7 separate regions of the Homo sapiens genome follow, and regions 1, 3, 4, 5, 6 and 7 are each linked to region 2. Evidence: promoter capture Hi-C in 16 types of primary human blood cells and fetal thymus (Javierre and others, 2016). All regions are on one chromosome and are shown on one strand. The core of a region is centred on a gene start or on the middle of the fragment in contact, and the rest is flanking DNA. Distances in the headings are between cores, read along the strand shown.

The links. The method cuts DNA at HindIII sites, captures the fragments that hold promoters and counts their contacts. A CHiCAGO score of 5 or more calls a contact.
Region 1: a fragment that was not itself captured here is called in contact with the fragment with the promoter of SH2D4A in region 2 in 1 of 17 cell types (M1 macrophages); the score reaches 5.0 in M1 macrophages.
Region 3: a contact is called between a fragment that was not itself captured here and the fragment with the promoter of SH2D4A in region 2, in 1 of 17 cell types (M0 macrophages). The highest score is 5.2, in M0 macrophages.
Region 4: a contact is called between a fragment that was not itself captured here and the fragment with the promoter of SH2D4A in region 2, in 2 of 17 cell types (M0 macrophages and M1 macrophages). The highest score is 5.2, in M0 macrophages.
Region 5: a fragment that was not itself captured here is called in contact with the fragment with the promoter of SH2D4A in region 2 in 2 of 17 cell types (naive CD4 T cells and non-activated CD4 T cells); the score reaches 5.6 in naive CD4 T cells.
Region 6: a fragment that was not itself captured here is called in contact with the fragment with the promoter of SH2D4A in region 2 in 5 of 17 cell types (M1 macrophages, megakaryocytes, monocytes and 2 more); the score reaches 7.8 in M1 macrophages.
Region 7: a contact is called between a fragment that was not itself captured here and the fragment with the promoter of SH2D4A in region 2, in 3 of 17 cell types (total B cells, megakaryocytes and M1 macrophages). The highest score is 5.9, in total B cells.

Annotation. Positions count from the first base shown.
Region 1 is chr8:19,012,224-19,015,003 of GRCh38, forward strand. PSD3 (pleckstrin and Sec7 domain containing 3) reads right to left here and starts at 1,480. Exons shown (of 16, transcript NM_015310.4): 1 at 1,340-1,480. The coding sequence starts at 1,360. It overlaps LOC124901898 (a long non-coding RNA gene), which reads left to right and starts at 1,780. Exons shown (of 2, transcript XR_007060840.1): 1 at 1,780-1,973. RefSeq lists silencers at 1,364-1,463, 1,534-1,623. The HindIII fragment of the contact is 2,141 bases long and covers 350-2,490 here.
Region 2 is chr8:19,312,267-19,314,984 of GRCh38, forward strand. It overlaps SH2D4A (SH2 domain containing 4A), which reads left to right and starts at 1,427. Exons shown (of 10, transcript NM_022071.4): 1 at 1,427-1,557. The HindIII fragment of the contact is 8,347 bases long and covers 1-2,718 here.
Region 3 is chr8:18,965,146-18,968,046 of GRCh38, forward strand. All of the region lies in intron 1 of PSD3 (pleckstrin and Sec7 domain containing 3), which reads right to left. Among named protein-coding and RNA genes, the nearest start is that of PSD3, 47 kb to the right of the region's middle. The HindIII fragment of the contact is 1,279 bases long and covers 652-1,930 here.
Region 4 is chr8:18,940,859-18,943,558 of GRCh38, forward strand. All of the region lies in intron 1 of PSD3 (pleckstrin and Sec7 domain containing 3), which reads right to left. Among named protein-coding and RNA genes, the nearest start is that of PSD3, 71 kb to the right of the region's middle. The HindIII fragment of the contact is 3,601 bases long and covers 1-2,700 here.
Region 5 is chr8:19,802,236-19,805,073 of GRCh38, forward strand. No RefSeq gene overlaps it. Among named protein-coding and RNA genes, the nearest start is that of INTS10, 14 kb to the right of the region's middle. The HindIII fragment of the contact is 1,694 bases long and covers 727-2,420 here.
Region 6 is chr8:18,896,298-18,898,997 of GRCh38, forward strand. All of the region lies in intron 2 of PSD3 (pleckstrin and Sec7 domain containing 3), which reads right to left. Among named protein-coding and RNA genes, the nearest start is that of PSD3, 120 kb to the right of the region's middle. The HindIII fragment of the contact is 453 bases long and covers 1,158-1,610 here.
Region 7 is chr8:18,877,044-18,879,803 of GRCh38, forward strand. All of the region lies in intron 2 of PSD3 (pleckstrin and Sec7 domain containing 3), which reads right to left. Among named protein-coding and RNA genes, the nearest start is that of PSD3, 140 kb to the right of the region's middle. The HindIII fragment of the contact is 157 bases long and covers 1,335-1,491 here.

The DNA.
Region 1 (2,780 bases), core at 170-2,669, 300 kb before region 2:
GTGGATGGATATAAAAAGGTTGTGGAAGGACATCCAGCCAGCCACTAAAAACTGGTTGAAAAGGTGCTAATTTATTTTGCATTTGCTTAACTGGTGATGTTGAGCATGTTGCACTTTTAACTGCTGAAGAGGAATTTCATGACTTTTTGAAAAGAAAACCTCTTGGTTTGTAAATACTCTCAGAAAAGAAAGGATCATTTCTTGGAAAAGGGTAGAAAGTGAATTCCCTTTCCTTTAGCAGGGGACATCCTTTCCCTCACATCTCACAAAAATCCAATCAACCCCTCCCTTTCAAGGTCCAGCATAACTGCCAGCTCCTCTCTGAGAACTTCCAAGCCCGGAGGCCAGAAGCTTCCTCTGAGATCCTCCATGGTAGCCTACGCATAAGTCTCTCCCAGGCAAGCTCTCAAGCACGCTTCTTGAAAGCAGAAATCCTATCCTACTTACCTAGCTACCGGGCTTTGCAAAATCCTTTGCACATACTCAATTACAACGAACGCATTGAGGCATTTGTTGCCAGAATCCCACTTACAGTAATTTTCCAGATCTCCGTCTTCCCTACACCAACACCTGGACCCACTCAAGAGTTATTCTGGAGCGGAAATCCTGGATCCCGCTATCGGGAGAACCAGTGTCTAGAAAATGAAATCGTGGTGCCCATTCCATCCTCTGCCTAGTGGGCGTTTAACATCCTTTGACATCGAGGGGAATGGCAAAACGAAACATTTATTATTTAGGTCACCAACAACATTCTAAACCCACGTCCTCTAATCGGTGTTAATGTGTTTAAAAAAAAAATTCAGAACATCATTCGCCAGAACGGAAAGCTGAAAACGGCGGATAAAGTTAAATGCATGTAAAACAGAATGACTTAAACATCTGTAAAAGCTCCTGGGAATTGCACCGAATAATCTTCCCTTGTCCGTTTGCTCGCTCAATTCAAGTTTGTTTAGTTTAGTCTTTTTTTCTTTCTTTCTGACAGAAACGTGATAGTCCCTAAATACAAGCTGACCGGGCAAAGAAAGATCGGCATACGAGGTCCTCTTTCATGTTGCCTTCTTTTGATAGCTTTTCTCCAAAGTCTGAGGTTTTCAAAGCCGAGGTATGAACTAAAACCCCTAAACCTTAACACCACAAAGTTGACCCTGCTGGGCTCCTAAAAAACACAAAGCAAGCAAGCGCGAAGAGAAAAATCGCACCCTGCACCTATCCAGACAGCACAAACCCAGGTGGCCCCGGGATCCTGGGGGACAGAGCGGCGACAAAGCAACACAAACCCCACGTCGAACAGCGGCGCCGCGTGCGCACCCCGCGCCCGCGCCCCGGCCCCGGAGCTCACCGCTGCGCTCCTTCCTTCCATCTTCCATCGCCAGCCCGGCCGCGCGCCGAAACCGCCGCCGGGCGCTCCGGGGCCGCAGCCTCAGGGCGCGAGTGCCGGCGGCCAGCGCCGCGTGCTCTTTGTTGAGCTCCCGGGACTGCCGAGAGGCGGCGGCCCGCGCGCACCCTGGCGGAGGCTGGCGAGGCTGCGAGCCCGCGGCAGCCGCCCGCCCGGCCCCCAGTAACGTCAAAGCGAAGGCGGCGCAGGCGGGCCGGCGGTGGCGGGCCCCGGGGGCGGAGGGCGGAGGGCGGAGAGGCGGGGCCGACGCCTCGGGGAGGGGGGAGGTGGCTGGGCCTCCGAGGCGGGGGCGGGGTCTCCAGGGCAGGGGCGGGGCCTCCGGGGGAGGCTGGAGGCGATCCAGACCCTCGCAGTGCAGCCCTCGAGCGGCCCGGACCGTCCGCTGCCTCCCGCAGCCGCGCGCCCGCCCTGGGCCCAGCCTCCAGCCCGCGAGCGAAAACCTGCCTGTTGCTTTGTCTTCTTCCTTCACAGTTTTCCCACCCTGAGAAAAGTGAGAGGTGCTTTCCCTGGTGTTTCCTCTCAGGAAGGGCCGTGTGACTGGAGCCGCGAGTTGGGCGCCGTCTCGCCGGGGCTGGAGGTACGCGGGCTTCGGGACACGCACCTAGGCGTCCCTCGGGGTCCCGGCCTCTCTGACCGGGCTCCCCCGGCACCGATCCGCGGCCGGAGCGTTTAGTCCCGGGGACCCGTCGAGCCCTGAAAGGGCCATTTCCCCCTGAGGCGAGTCCCCCCAGGCGCCCCGCAGCCTGGCCTCGGGACTGCCCCCACCGACAGTGCGTGCGCGGGGAGAGGTCACTTAAAACTGCATTTTCGAACATTAGTGCCCCGGACCCGCACCTTTTTTCCTCCGTCCTTTGATCTGTGCCGCAGAGGCAAGGGCTGGAACGGCGCCCTCCCCTGGTAGAGGGACGGAGAGACCGCAAATCTTTCCCCCTGGGAGGTCCGTTAAGTAGATCCAAGCACCTGGAGGCGGAACCTGTGTGGCCGGCTACAGGGTGGTCCTGTGTATGTGTTACCGCCTTATTGTTCCAAAGAACAGTCTTTTTCAAGTGACAGGTAGAAGACGCCCCAATAACGAGAAGTGACTGACTTGGCCAAGCTTAGAGATGGGAGTGGAGTCAGGTTCCCTGGTGGCCCCACGATCTCGCCCACCATGTCAGCATGGGCTGCCCGGTGAGCATAGCTGAGATGCACCAAGGCCACATAAGTCACCTACTTTGCCTTGGCTGCCCCATCTGCATCTATCAAAGGAAGCCTTGGACACCCACCAGAGGAGCCAGCATGAGGGAGTGTATGCCTTTATACAAATTCACTCCAACTTCAGAAAAACGTCCGCAGCTCATGCTCCCCCTGCCAGAGCAGCAGTGTGAGCAGCTGTGTAGGTTTG
Region 2 (2,718 bases), core at 177-2,676:
TGTGTTTGAACACTCACCACATGCCAAGAGCTCTTCTAATCTCTTTGCATGTAGCATCTCATTTAACCCTCTTGACAACTTACCGAGGCAGACACTCTTTATCTAGAGGAGGAAAGTGAGGTACAGAGGTTAGTAGCACAGTGATAAAGCTGTTATAAGGAAGGACTTGCCAGGACCTGGAGAGAGACTGGGTGTGAGGAAGGTAGGCTGTCACAGTGTCCTGTGGGATTTTTCCTAACTGATAAACCACCCTGTATGGTTCAACTGATGCATCCATGCAGGGCTAGGATTCATTCTGACCTCGTCATAGCAGCTTTCCAGGGGCCAATCCCACTCCAGCCTAAAGCACCCCATATGCTATCATTTAAACTGCAGTAGGAACTAAGCCTTACACCAGAAATTCCTCCCTGATGGGATTCCTGGAATTGTTCCTAAATAGCTGGGTCTTATTTCCTGACAATGCCGCCTGCCCCGAGGCTTGATGTAACTCTGCACAGCTTCTGCAGTTTGGAGAGGCAGGGAAATGCCATTTTGTGTTTGAATCCAGCAGGTCAGGCTCCTAAAGAGGTCAGGTAGTCCGTGGAGAGGACTACTGGTGTTTACTGTTTATTACATCTCTCCCAATACACAAAATCTGGGGTTCACCAAAGCAGGCGGTTTTCTTCCACATGCTCCTCTAGGATGGAAAATGCCCTCCAGTGGAAATGCCTTTCCACTGTGCTTCTGCTCAATTTTCCTCCAAGATTTCCTCTAACTGTGGACTGCCAGCTCCTCCCTGACGTCTTCAGGCACCAAGCCAACCTGTTCTTGTTGCAATCCTCAAGACTCCTTTCAGCATCTTAACTTTTCCCCCAGTTTTCTTTCATTTTCTCCACCTGTCTGTGTTGACTGCGGTCTCCTTCCTTCCAGCCTTTTCCTTCCTTCATCTTGTCCTACAAAGCCACACGTGTACCGACAAGTGCCAAAGAGTTTGATCATTTACTTAATGTCAACAAAAGAAAAAAAAAAAAAGCTCCAGAGTCGCCTTGGCCTGCAGCACCCAAGCAGAGTGAACAAGTGGGGCCTGCGCACCCTCCTACCCTACACCTAGCAAGGAACCCCGAGCTCTGAAACGTGGAAAGGCCCAGATCTGCAGATTTAATCTAAGTCCTGCAGTCCCCAAGAGATCACAGACTGCAGATCCCTGTCTCATGAACTAAGAGAGGAGAGGACAAGCCTACCCCGGACTACCGCAGCTCGGGGACAGCGCGCGGGCCAGGCGGCCCGAGATGCGCAGGCCACGCAGCCTCGCCGACGAGTGGCCCTGGAGAGCCTCCAGGCGCCCGGGTGGGGCCGCGATTGCGCCCCGCCAGTCACCCCGGCATGTGGGCGCGGCGGGGCGGCGCGGGCGGGACGGCTACAAGAGCTGTTTTGCGTCCGGGCCGGAGTATTTGCTCAGCCCGCCTGCGCCGCTTGGGACGCCTCTGCCTTTCCCTCCCTCCCTTCCCCGACGGCTTCTGGCGGCCAAGTGGATGTGGCGGGTGATCGAGCCACCCTGCCCAGGGGCGCCCAGCACTGGTAGGTGCTGGGGGTGGGGCGAGGCTTTGGGGAGAGTGTGCGTGGGGTGGGAGTAGGGGGAAGGGAATTTCCTCGGAGGTTGCATGGGTGCATGGGAGGCGCAGGGGCCAGAGCGGGCGGGCGGAAGCCTCACCCCCGCCTCCACCCCTTCGCGGCGCCCGGGGCGGGCTCAGGTGCGGGGTTGGGCGGCGAGAGCGGCCGCGGCGGGTGTCCGGTGTCCGGTGTCCGGTGTCCGGTGTCTGGAGCCGCTGGCTAGGTGAGCGGCGGTCCCCGGGGCCTGGGGGCTTGCAGGGGGTGGCGGGGGAACTTCGAGGGAGAGGGTCTGCCGGGGCTGAGGACCTTCGGGGAAGTTCTGGAATCCGGCAGGGACACGCGGCGCGTGCTTCCACCCGCGGGGAGTGCAGGCCCCGGGAGGGTCCGGGCTGGCCTAGAGTTTCTAGACTCCTAGCAGGAGCACGTCCTCGACTTGCGCATGGAAATCTTCCAGGAGGGAAGTCCCGGGAAACGGTGGCAGCTGGCGCAGCACCCCCGCAGCACGTTCCCCGCGCACCGGCACCCAGGGGCGCCCCCACGTGGGGTCTGGGAGCGCGCGGAGGCCAGTGCAGCGCCGCCTCCCTCGGGCTGCAGCGGCGGGGCTGGCCCAGACCCAGACCGGGTGCCCAGTGCGCTCAGCCAAGCGGCGCCCCTGCCCGCTCCTGGACTCGGGGGTCACGCGGGCACCGGAAGGAGCTACAGTTTGTAGGTTTTCTGAGTTGTCTCTCCCTTCCCAGGGAGCTTAGAGAAGCAGCAAGCGTGGCACCTCCCCCTTTCAAACAGATGCTCCTCATCGCTCCAAAGGCTTTCGTTTGATTGCTGGTTTAATAGAAACAACGACTTGGGTACGATTATTTTAAAATAGTGAATAAATAAGTGGAAAGCATACAGGGGCATAGATTTGGCATATGAGTGGAATTCTCTATGTATACTAAATCTGTGTGTACAGTAATCTCAAATTTCTGAAGAATAGTATATATTTACAAACTGCTGTCATCTCTGGTAATTTGTTTCATCCTCAAAAACAGCCCTTTTGCTGGTAGATGAATAAGATAAAGTTTCAATAAGAAAACAAAGTTGGACCACAGAGCTGGCTGTTTTAAAAGAATTAGAATTCAAACTGTATTG
Region 3 (2,901 bases), core at 41-2,540, 350 kb before region 2:
CCCACCAATTCTGCCATCCCAAATAGCAACATTATTTTAAACTTTGCTGTTTTCTATGACAATAACCTCATTCACTGGTCATTCAGAAATAATGTCCTTCTGAAGATGCTGGCAACTGACTTTCACACTCAGTTATATGTCAGGTTTTGGCTACCTAAAGATGTATGAGCACATCATGCCAAGGCCCAAGAGAAGTTCCTCCAGCTGAAATCAAGGGAATAGGTTGCGCCCTTGAGGAACCAGCGTCCCCTCTATGGAGCCATTCACAGGCTGTGCTGGTAAGGCCTTGTTCTCTCATCCCATTACCCCGTTCGGCGGGGGTGACAGTGACAGCAAGCATCACACACGCTAGTGAGAAAGGACCCATGCCCGGTTGCCACTGTGACCATTTACTACTCAAGTAGAGCACAAGGTTTAAACAATGCTCTCAAAAATTACAGCCTAGAGTTATTGAAAAAGCTGAGTCCCCACAGATAGACTCGAAGCTGCAAAATGCAGTAAGTGGTGTACATAAAAAGTGTCCAATCCAACAAGCTGTAGGTCAAGCTTGCAAGATTCTGGAGATGGATGGCAAGTGAAAACATGTGAAGCCAACAGGCCCACTCTTGATTTTGACACGTGGATATTTTCACACCCATGAGATGGATCTGAAGCTTAATACAGAATTGTAATGCGAAAAGCAACACGTGAACAAAATAAATGGACACATAACAGCAGCGTAAATGCCAGGCCTGAGTTAAGCTCCTGGTAATATAACACCCGGGGTTTGGGCTTTTCCGTGCCCATTTCCTCTTGTGAGTTTAAGGCACATTACTAAAATGATCTCATTAATCCTCACAACACCTGATGAGGGGAGTAGGCAACAAATATTTTAATCTCCCATATAAGATGGAAAAAACAAATCACCAATGTGCTGTATAACTTTTCCCAGGATTACAGCTAGCACTCAGTCAGAGAAAACAGTCGACTTGAATCTCAGTAAAGAGTTGACTATACCAGGCTATTTGAAAGAAAATGCTGCTCACTAAGATGGATTTCTTAATTAAGCAGCTGTATACCACATACATTCCAGGTGGACTGCCATTCCACTTCTCACAGAGTTTCCACACCTATACTAGGCTGTCAAACAGAGTCATTTTTCAGGCCAGGTGCGGTGGCTCAGGCCTGTAATTCCAGCACTTTGGGAGGCCGAGGCAGGTGAATCACTTGAGGTCAGCAGTTCAAGAACAGCCTGGCCAACACTGCGAAATCCCCATCTCTACTAAAAATACAAAAATTAGCTGGGTGTGGTGGTGCACGCCTGTAATCCCAACTACTCGCAAGGCTGAGGTAGGAGAATTACTTGAACCTGGGAGGTGGAGGTTGCAGTGAGCTGAGATTGCACCACTGAACTCCGGCCTGGGCAACAGAGAGAGACTGTCTTAAAAAAAAAAAAAAAAACCAAAAAACACAAATAGAGTCATTTTTAAAAATACTTCCCTAGACCTCCTGGCTTCCAGTTATGCCCTACAACTGTTCTTCTCAAACAGGGGACTCCTCAGATCCCCAGGGTCACAAACCAGTGTGCCCCAGGAGGACGCAACGTTTCCGGACCAACGGGCACATCTTCTTGGGGCTCAATTTGAATAGATGGTCATTTAAAATCTGATTTTGATATTTAAATATATTTTTAAATGAAATGCAAAATTGGCATAAAATTTTCAAATTAGTCTTAAAATAAATGATACCTAAAAGCATGCTGCTTTAGGAGATACTCACAAGCAAGGCTTGGGTAGGGGGAGAAGGGATGGTAGGTGCACTTTGCTATTAAGTGTAGTTCAGGGAAAACATGTCCAAAAACAGAACAAAGCAACTTAAGAGGAAAAACAATTCCAATCTGCTTGCCTGGTCCAAACCATTCCAGGCAGACAGGAACATTTCCTGCCATAAAAGCTTTTACTTGGCTTTCTTTTCACGTGGGCTGTAAGACCTATCAGCATGGAATCCCACTTAGGATTTTCTTTTTTCTTTATTTATTTTTTTTTTTTGAGACGGAGTTTCACTCTCGTTGCCCAGGCTGGAGTGCAATGGCATGATCTTGGCTCACGGCAACCCCTGCCTCCCAGGTTCAAGTGATTCTCCCGCTTCTGCCTCCCGAATAGCTGGGATTACAGGTGTGCACCACCATGCCCGGCTAATTTTGTATTTTTAGTAGAGACGGGGCTTCTCCATGCTGGTCAGGCTGGTCTCAAACTCCCGATCTAAGGTGATCCACTCCCAAAGTGCTGGGATTACAGGCGTGAGCCACCGCGCCTGGCCAGGATTTTCTATTAAAAAATCTTAAGATTACTAGTAGTAAAATGCTATTTCCATATTAAACCTGACAACATCAAAGCTACCTATTGACTCACTTAACTATTTCCAGAAAGCCCAGCAGATACCAGACTTGCCCTGCTGAAGGCCTTTATGAGCTGGTCCACAAAACATCTTAGAACCTTTGACCATCAGGGTAGGGTTCTCTTTACTATTTCAACCAGAAAATTAGAAAATCAAGGAAAGGCAAATGACCTCAGATGTTGGTAGGAGGAATTCCTTTATATTTACTAAAAATATCTACTAGCTGCCAAAAGAGTCACATGATAAAGTTGGTAACCAGAAATGGAGGCATGTGAAAGATACACACAGGTTATCAGGAAAATCAGGTGACGGAAGATACAGGCTTCTCCCAACACAGACTTTTTCCAAGTGCTCAGAATTAGAATTGGGTATCGAGGGCCCATTCACATATTCCTGGGAGCTGCGAGGAGAATTGCTTCCAATATCCAAGTTCTACAAAAGGCTAGCAAAAGATCCAAACCTAAACCACCAAAACCAGACTGGTAACTGCTTTGAGGAACTCACTGAGCACTCTGACCACAGCAG
Region 4 (2,700 bases), core at 101-2,600, 370 kb before region 2:
TCAGTTCCCCAATAAAACACCCTATAACAACAGTCTGGACCTGTCTGCCTTCTCCTTTGGTTTCTCAGCTCCACCTGCACTGGGGGGTTATTCTTACCAAACAATTAGTTATTCTTGAAGCTGTGAGCCCCTATTGATACATCCTCTTCCCATAGCAAGGCTTATAAATTTTTACTGATCTCTCCAATAATTAATGCAGGTCTTTGAAAACTGTATTGTTAAAACAATCAGATTAATGACAGACCCACAGAATTCAGACTACTATTTCCTTTGGCATTACTAACTGAATAAAATATATTCTTTTGCTTCATCACAGTTGTTTTTACGAACATAAATCTCCTTAAGAAGTATGGAACATGAAACATTAGCAGCTGGACTGATGGTCAGGTGATCAGACTTAAATCTCGGCTCGATAGTACCACGCAGTCTCACACAAATGCTTCAAGTTTGGGCTTCAGCTTCCCTATTGATAAAAAGTGTTACTCAAATTTATCTCTCAGCTCTCCTTGAATTCTGAAGCACAATGATTCTTCACACTTCTGAACCAGCTTCACAGACACTTCACTACGGGAGCAGTAACATCTTTTCCTTGTGATAAAATTACAATGGCATGATCCCCAAAACACACCCTGTATTTAAAGATGCAAGCCCACCATTAAATGGATGGGACAAACAAAATCTCAACCTTACATTTGATATGACTTTTCACATTTACAAAGAATTACATTCACGTTATCCAACTCGCAACATTACCGATTATAATTACCAATTTTAGACACAAGATAAGCACTACTGATGTAGAATGACTTTTTTTTTTTTTTTTTTTTTTGAGATGACAGATTCTCACTCTGTCACCCAGGCTGGAGTGCAATGGTACAATCTTGGCTCACTGCAACCTCCGCCTCCCGGGTTCAAGTGATTCTCCTGCCTCAGCCTCCAGAGTAGCTGGGATTACAAGCACGCATCACCATGCCTGGCTAATTTTTGTATTTTTAGTAGAGACAGGGTTTCACCATGCTGGCCAGGCTAGTCTCAAACTCCTGACCTCAGGTGATCCGCCCGCCTCGGCCTCCCAAAGTGCTGGGATTACAACAGGTGTGAGCTGCCACACCCAGCCTAGAATGATTCTTTTAATTAATTGTTTAGCTGTAAAAAAATCAAAAAGACGAAGCAGAAAGCTACAGGCAAATTTTAGAAGTAAAAGTGGTTTTCAGTTGATTTGGGAAGGGAATGATGGGGCTAGAGGAGTGAGGAGGGAGAAAAAGGTTAAGAGTAGAGTTTGAGAAAGGTGGCATGCTCCTTCATTTCCTTAATTATTTCAACTTCAGTATGATTTTCAGAGAATCTGAAAGCCTCCAAGTCAGCCAGTGAGTATTATAAAGAAAAAATTAAACACTAAATTAAAGACTATAAAATAATATTTCATGACTCACTCAAAACTAACACTTGGTTCCAACAGTCACACTCTGCACTTGATCCTGCTCAATCCTATCTGCTCCCATTGCCCAGCAGAAGCCAGGCCCATGGAAGCAGGGAGCCACGCACAACTTAAGTGCAGACAGGGACAAGAAGCTCAAGGCTAATGCTGCAAAAGGCAACAGTTAGGCGTTATGGGCTGAATTGTGTCCCCCCAAGATTTATATGTTGAAGTCCTAACCCCCAGTACCTCAAATGTAACTGTATTTGGAGATAAGGTCTTTAAAGAGATAATTAGGTTAAAATGAAATCAGTAGAGTGTGTCCTAACTTAACATGACTAATGTCTTCATATGAAAAGATGACGACAGGCACACACTGAGAAAAGACCATGTGAAGACACAGGGAGAAGGTGGCCATCTGCAAGACAAAGAGAGAGGCCTCAGAAGAAAGCAACCCTTCCAACTTTGATCTCGAATTTCTACTCTCTAGAACTGTAAGAAAATTAATTTCTGTTGTTTCAGTGCCCTGTTTATGGTACTTTATTACAGCAGCCTAGTTAACTATTACTTTAGGAAAGGCTACAGATTAGAGGGCAAAAGGAAAATTCTCCAGGATGACAGGTAACAAGCCCCTGCTATTCCCTTTTAATAAGCAAAAGGGTCTGGATGAGAAGGTATATCCTTGCACCAGCCCACACAGGAGGAATGTGGGTTTGAAGACATGCAAAGTTGTAAAAGGAGGTGAATCTTTCACTCTAGCCAAAAACAGCGATGTATAATACTCTAATCCAGTGGTTTTCCCAGCTGTGTACATGAGAATCCTAAGATTCAAAGAAGCTGCCTGGGTATAGAGACAGGGTGGCTGCAAAGATCAACAAAGGAGGCATGGTGAAAAAGACTCTTGTTCACTCAACCCCACACCACTTTTGCAACCACAGTAGTTCCATTTCTGTTTTAAAGATTCAAGTTCTATAACAGGTTTATGGGGAAGGGAGACGTCCAGTGTAAAAAGGAAAAAGAAAAAGTTTTAAAAAATCACTGTTGTTTATTTCTGGGTAAGATGGCAAAATAAATATACACATTTGCATTTGCCCTCATCCAAAGCTACTAAAAGCACAGTAAAGAGATTCTTCTTATAAAAGCACAAACCCACAGGAAATAGAATAAGAAAAATGACATTTTTGAAGCAAATGATCTAGTGATAACTGACACAGGAGACCACAGGAAAACCTGGAGAAGGAAAAGAACAATTCAATGCACCCCACAAGACATCCAAAGGACAA
Region 5 (2,838 bases), core at 324-2,823, 490 kb after region 2:
AAGTAGAAAGTCAACTTGACTTCAGGGGAGAGTGACCTGCCCTTCCCATCTGCTTTCCAGCTCCCTTCTCTACTGAGAGCCACTTTCATTGCTCAGTAAAAATCTTCGCATTCACCAGCCTTCAGTTGTCCACGTGACCTCACTTTTCTTGGGTACTGGACAAGAGTTCGGGACCCACCAAGTGCAGTACCCAAAAAGGCTCACACTAGCCCTTTGCTCTCACTGGTGGAGGGCCGCCACCCCATGCAATGAGGCAAAGGGACCACTGAGCTGATAGCACTCTGCTGTCCTCAGATGGTGAAGCTAAGAGAGCACTGTAACATACCCTCTGGGGTTTTGGGGTCACAGGCACCCCCATCTGGATGCTGCTGCAGGCCTGCCTGGAGTTTGCTCCTGCCAGCGCCAAAGCAGCCAGCCAGTTCCTACACTCATTCGCTCATGTGCTCCCTCCCACAAGGAGTTGAGTGTGGAAGCCTGAGTAAATGGGGCACCCCTGTTGCAAGTCCTGCAAAGGGGTCAAGGAAAAATCCTGCATCAATTTCCAGATGATTTTCCTTACAGGGTTTAGAAGGAACTTTCTTATTATGCTGGCTCAGTACAACTAATTGCTCTGAATCTTCTGTTTCTTGGGAAAATGGCCTTTTTCAAAGTTCAGTTTGATTATGTGGCACTTAGCATGAGTGAGTCCATTTAGGTTTGGCCGGGTCTGCTGGGAACTAGAGCAGAAGCTTAGTCCAAATAATGGCCTTCCATAAATTTTCTTTGACAAAGACAATGCCTTTTTTTTCTCATTTATTTCCCCCTTTTTCTACCTTTGGAGGCCAGGCATTTAAGATTGGACATTCAAAAGCAACTGCATATTTGTGGGAATATAGAAACTCACTAAACATGCCTGAGACATAGGCTCAGAAAAGATGTGAGAAGACCTTCAGTTTACATCTCAGGCTGATCTCACACAGAGGGTAATACCCCACTGAAAAAAAAAATTTAAAAACAGCCAACAAAAACAAACAGAAGAAAAGCAAAAAGGAGAAAAATCTGTTTTCCAGAGTTACCAAATTATAAAATCCAAATATGCAGTTTTTAATGAAAACATTAAAAGACACAAAAAGAAACTAGAAAGTGTTGCCTATTCAAAGGTAAAACAAATAGACTGAAACCATCCCTGAGGAAGTTCAGATGGTGGACTTACCAGAAAAACACTTTAATAAAACAGCTGTCTTAAAGATGCTCAAAGAGCTAAAGGAAGATGTGGACAAAGTCAGAAATATGTATGGAATATCAATGAAGAGACAAAAATCAAAGCAGAACAAAAAAGAAATTCTGCAACTGAAAATTATAACTCAAATAGAAAATTCACTAGATGAATTTAAAGGCAGACTAGAGCAGGCAGAAGAAAGAATCAACAAACTTGAATGTAGGAGAATTGAATTATTGCCTCTGAGGAAAAGTAAGAAAAAAACGGAAGAAAAGTGAACAGAGCCCAAGGAACTTGAGGAAATACATCAGGTGGACAAGCATATGCATTGTGGAAATTACAGAAATAGAAGAGAGAAACAGAGAAAGGCGGAGAGAGATTATTTCAAGAAATAATGGCCAAAAACTTTGATGTTGTATGTGAATCCACAAATCTAAAAAGTTCAACTAACTCCAAGTAAGATAAACTCAGAGACCTATACAAAAATGCATTATAATCTGTCAAAAGCCAAAGATAAAAAAAATCTCAAAAGCATCAAAAAATAAATAATTCATCCAATACAAGTAATTCTCAATAAAATGACCAACAGATTTGTCATCAGAAAACCTTGGAAACCGAAGGTAGTGGGTTGGTACATTCAAAGTGTTGAAAGAAAAATAAGTGTCAACAAGAATTCCACGTCAGGCAAAACTGTCCTTCAAAAATGAGGGAGAAATTAAGACATTCCCAGATAAACAAAAACTGAGGGCATTCACTACCATTAGACATGCCCTGAAATAAATGCCAAAGGTAATACTTGAGATTAAAGTGAAAGAACAAAAGACAGTAACTTGAAGCCACATAAAGAAATAAAGATCTCTGGTAAAGATAAATATCTGGTTTAATTGTAAAGCCAGTATTATTATAACTTTAGTTTGCAACACCAATTTTTATTTCCACGTGATTTAAAAGACAAAAGCATAAAAAATCATTAGTCTATGTTTTGGAGTATACGATGTATAAAGATACATTTAGTGAAATCAAAGATATAATTAGTGAAAGGTGGTGGAGCAGGAGCCATATAAGAGCAGAGTGTTTCCATGTAATTGAAGTTAAAAAGGCATAATTTCAATTTATGGCCTGCCATGGCATGAAATGGAGTACAGTGGGCAGAAAAGACATGGGAAATCTTATTTAATCAGTATGACAAACAATAAGTAGATTGGCAGCTTTGAAAAAGATAAGCTTGGTGTCTTGAACTTTCAACCAAGGCATGGGTTGAAATCAGAAAGCTTCTATCATGGCCTCCTAGGAACTTCTTATCTCTGCTGCTAGGCTGTAAGTGGCTGAGGGTTGGGATACCTATTCTACAAGATTCACCTCATTATCCTTCATTGTCTCCAGGCATATAAAAAGAGATAAATTCTAGGACAGATTATTTGTATGAACTTAGAATGTGTTCCCGTAGTTTGCTTAGTGTTGCCAGGGAAAAAATAGTAATTATAGAATGGAGAAATTAGACAGCACCTTGAACAAGGGAACAAAATAAATGTTGTCAATGACGGGCAAATAGACATTTTATGCCTTCAGATATGATACCCTAAGAAGGACATATCAAATATGTGGTATTCCAGCCAGGAATACACAAATGAATCTAAAAA
Region 6 (2,700 bases), core at 134-2,633, 420 kb before region 2:
CAACATACTGATTTCCTTTTTTCTGGATATATACCAAGTGGTAGGATTGCTGCATAATATGAGAGCTCTATTTTTAGTTTTTGAGCAACTTCCATACTGTTTTTCCTTAGTGGCTATACTTTTATTTTATTTTTGAGACAGGGTCTCGCTCTGTCGTTCAGGCTGCAGTGCACTGGTGCAATCTTGGCTTGCTGCAGCCTTGACCCCCTGGGATCAAGTGATTCTCCCACCTCAGCCTCCCAAGTAGCAGGGACTACAGGCACACACCACCACCTCAGCTAATTTTTGTATTTTTTGTAGAGATGAGGTTTCACCAGATTGCCCAGGCTGGTCTTGAACTCCTGAGCTCAAGCCATCTGCCCACCTCGGCCTCCCAAAGTGTTGGAATTACAGGCGTGCACCACCATGCCTGGCCTCCTTAATGGGTTTACTAATTTACATTCCCACCTACAATGTGTAAGAGTTTCCCTTTTCTCTTAATCCCACTAGCATTTTTTTATGTTTTGTCTTTTTTTGTTTTGTTTTGTTTTGAGACAGAGTTTTGCTCTTGTTGCCCAGGCTGGAGTGCAATGGCATGATCTCGGCTCACCACAACCTCCGCCTCCCAGGTTCAAGCAATTCTCCTACCTCAGCCTCCCGAGTAGCTGGGATTACAGGCATGCACCACCATGCTCGGCTAATTTTGTATTTTTAGTAGAGACAGGGTTTCTCCATGTTGAGGCTGGTCTCGAACTCCTGACCTCAGGTGATCCGCCCACCTGAGCCTCCCAAAGTGCTGGGATTACAGGCGTGAGCCACCGTGCCCGGCCTATGTTTTGTCTTTTTGATAACAGCCATTCTAGCTAGGTTGATATAATATCTCATTATGGTTTTGATTTGCATTTCCCTGATGTTCAGTATTTTTTCATATACCTGTTGGCCATCTATATGTCTTCTTTTGAGACGTGATGTGTCTGCTTATTGAAGAGACTGTCCTTTTCCCAGTGAATGTTCTTGGTGCCTTTGTTGAAAATGAGTCGGCTATAAAGATGAGATTTATTTTTCTGGGTTCTATATTCTGTTCCATTGGTCTGTGTATCTGTTTTTATGACAGTACTATGCTATTTGGTTACTATGGTTTTGCAGTATATTTTGGAGTCCGGTAGTGTGATGTCTCAAGCTTTGTTCTTCTTGCTTTGGCTATCCAGGGTATTGTGTGGTTCTAGGCAAATTTTAGGACTGTTTTTTCTATTTCTGTGATGAATGACACTGGTACTTTGATAGGGAATGCACTGAATGAGTATACTGCTTTTTGTAGTATGGCCATTTTTACCATATTAATTCTCCCAATTCATGAAAATGCAATGTGTTTTTATTTTTGCATATGCCTGCTGCAATTTCTTACATCAGTGTTTTATAGTTTTCCTTGCAGAGACATTTCATTTCCTTGGTTAAATTTTTCCCTAGGTATTTTACTTTTTGTAGCTACTGTACCTGCAATTGCTTTCTTACTTTCTTTTTCTGCTATTTGAATGTTGGTATATAGAAACACCACTGATTTTTCTAAGTTGATTTTGTATCCTGCAACTTTACTGAATTAGACGGTCAGTTCAGAGGTTTTTATTTTTTGAAGCTTTCATAGTTTTATTTATATAAGATCATTTATCTGGCTAAAACTTCTAGTACTCCTGAAAAAAAATGGAGAAAGTGGTCATTCTTGTCTTGTTCCAGAGCTAGAGGAAAAGTTTGCAGCTTTCCCCAGTTCAGTATAATGTTGGCTATGGTTTTCTCATATACGGCTTTGACTGTGTCGAGGTATGTTCCTTCTTACCTAACTTGCTGAGAGTTTGATTAAAGTGCAGTTTAAATCCAATGTTGCTTTGTTTGTTTTCTGTATAGATGATCTATCTGATGCTTAGAGGGGTGTTTAAGTGCCCAACTATTACTGTCCTGTTTAAGTGCAATTTAAATCTAATAATATTTGCTTTGATTACCTGGGTGCTCCAGTATTAGGTACATATACGTTTATAAGTGTTATATCTGCTTGCTGAATTGATCCTGTTATCACTGTATAATGACCTTCTTTGTCTCTTTTTACATGAGTTTACTTAAAGTCTGTTTTATCTGATATAGGAATGACTACATTTGCTTGCTTTTGGGTTCTGTTTGCATGGAATGTCTTTTTCCATACTTTCACATTCAGTCTACAGTTGACCTTTGAATAAGATGGGATTTAGGGGCACTGAGCACCACCACCATGCAGTTGAAAATCCACATAACTTTTGACTCTCCAAAAACTTAGCTACTAACATATTAGCCTACTATTGACTAGAAGTCTTACTGATAATATAAATAGGGAATGGACACATATTTTGCATGTTGTATGTATTATATACTTTATTTTTATAATAAACTAGAGAAAAGAAAATGTTACTAAGAAAATGATGAAGAAGAGAAAATATATTTACTATTCATTAAGTGGAAATGAATCATCATAAAGGTCTTCATCCTCAATTTCTCATTGAATAAGCTGAAGAGGAGGAGAAAGGAGTTGTCCTCATCTCAAGGATGGGAGAGGCAGAAAAGGTAGAGGAAGAAGAACAGGAAGCAAGAGAGGCAGGCACATTCAGTGTAAATGTACAGACATAATCATAGTTTCTGTCTTTTTAACTTTTTCATTTCTCCAAAAATGTTTCTTCTATACAGTACCAATCCTTCTTC
Region 7 (2,760 bases), core at 163-2,662, 440 kb before region 2:
TTATATATTCTGGACATAAGTTCTTTATTAGATGTACACTTTGCAAATGTTTTCTACCATTCTGTGAGTGGTCATTTTTCACTTAATTGACAGTGTCTTCTGAAGCACAAACGTTTTTACTTTTGCTGAAATCCAAATTATCCGTTTTTCCTTTGGTCTCTTGTGCTTTTTGTATCATATGTAGCAAATCATTGTCTAAACCAACGTCACAAAGATTACTTTTACGTTGTCTTCTAAGAGTTTTGCAGTATTTGCTATTACATTTAGCTCTCTCATCCACTTTCAATTCATTTTCGTACATGATGTGAAGTAGAAATCCAACTTCATTATTTTGTATGTGGATATCCAGTTGTCCCAGAGCTATCTGTTGAAAAGACTATTCTTTACCCATCAAAAAGCCTTGGTGCCCATGTCAAAAATCAAACATATACATATATTAATATATATGCAAAGGTTTATTTCTGGACTCTCAAGTCCATTGAGCTAGATGCCTATCTTTTTTTTTTTTTTTTCTTTTTGACAGGATCTCACTCTGTCGCCCTGGCTGGAGTACGGTGGTGCAATCACAGTTCACTGCAGTGTTGACCTCCTGGACTCAAGCGATCCTCCCACCTCAGACTTCCGAGTAGCTGGGGCTATACGCATGCACCACCATGCCTGGACAATTTTTCATTTTTTTTAAGAGACAGGGTCTCACTACATTGCCCAGGCTGGTCTTGAACTCCTAGGCTCAAGTGATCCCTCCCGCCTCAGCCTTCCAGTGTCAGGATTACAGGCATGTAGCACCACACCTGGCTAGATGCCTATCTTTATGCCAGAATAACACTGTCTTCACTATTGTAGCTTTGCAGTAAGTGAAATCTGGAAGTGTGAGTCTCCTCCAACCTTGTTCTTCCTTTTTCAGGTTGTTTTGGTCACTCTTGGCCCCTTGAATTTCCCATTACTTTTAGAATCAACTCGTCAGAAAGCTGTGATTTTGATAGGGGCTGCAATGAATCTATACAGTACTGGCTTCTTAACAGTATTACTATTACATCTTTCGTTCCATGACCATGGGCTGTCTTTTCACTTACTTAATCTTCTTTAATTTCTTTTAGCCATTTTTTTTTATAATTTTAAATGTACAGATTTTCAATTTATTCCCCTAAGATTCTATTTCTTTTGATATTGCTTTTCAAATTTCTTTAGATCATTCAGTAGCCATGCATAGAAATTCAATTTGTTGCTGTATGTGAATCTTATATCCTACAACCTTGCTTAACTTGGAGCATATAATAACATATTTGTAGATTCCTCAGGATTCTACATACCAGATCATGTCATCTGTGGATAAAAGCTTTACTTCTTCCTTTACAATCCCAATCCATCTTTCTAATCAAGTCTCTGTCAACCCCCTTTCACATGTTATACCATTGCCTCTACACTGAAGTAGGAGGCAGCCCATGAATACCCTGAAAAGATTTGTTCTAATCCTAATACACACTGGAAATAAGCTTAAGCATACATACATTCTGAATGCATAGACATACACACGCTCCTTTGCCTTTGTTCAACTTCCTTTCTCTACCTGACATACTTTTTCTTCTCATTTCAACATAAATCAGATTATTTTCACATTTCAACACCTAAACCAAATCCCCTGTCCTTAATTAAGCCTTCCCTTGCTCACCAACTCTTGAAAAAAGTCCTCTCCTCTGTATAAATAAATGTCAAAAAGACTTTTGCGGTATGGTATATATAGTGTAAATATACAAAACAAATAAGCATAATGTTACTCACGCCTTAAAGCTTCCAAAGGCAATAATGTTTAACCCATCATGAAGTGTTTTAAGAAAATTGACCATAGTGACTGCTGAAGCTGTATTTATAAACTGCACCAAAACATATAACAGTGAAATCCATTCAACAAAGGGAAGAAAAGTTAAACTTAGACACTTGGGAGCCCGCTTTGCTTTAACAGTTTCAACTGCCCTCTGGAAAAAACAAACAAACAAACACACACACACAAACACACACACACACACACACACACACACACACACACGCACACACAACTGAACACTGGCCCCAAGAGAAGTGACCAAAAGATATCAAGGGGCCTCAGAGAATTCTGATAATTCCTTCACCCCATTTTTAATAGTTTTCATTGAAATGTCCCTCAGAAAGGGGCAGCAAATTCAACAATTGTGGGCAAGTGCTTGTGATGTCTGATATAACAACTTGGCAACCGGTCAAAGAAAACGAGGTCAGATAAGAGGGAGACAGGGCAAGGCAAAGCCCTGCGTGACAGATTGCTTGCTTTACTATTAAATACTGGAGTAGTTTCTCGTGGTCTGTGTTTACTGTTCTAAGAACTGGAACAGACGGGGGGAGACAAATGTTCTGAGAGGCGAAAGGACCTGACCAAGGTCAATAAAATGATGTTCAATAAAGTATTGTTTTAGAACTCTAAGTCAGGACTAAATTTCTAGTCTTCTGTCTCTCAGGAGTAAAAGCCTGGGAGAAACTCAGGGACACTGAACCGTGAGAGATCATCATTCATCATTGCTTTTTTTTTCTTTTCTGAGATAGGGTCTCACTCTGACACCCAGCTGGGGTGCAGTGGCACCATCATAGCTCACTGCAGCTCAGCCTCCTCCGGTGCTTAAGTGATCCTCCAGCCTCAGCCTCTGGAGTAGCTGGAACCACAGGCATGTGCCATCTCACCCGGCTAATTTTTTTATTTTTATTTTTTTGTAGAGACGGGGTTTCCCTATGTTG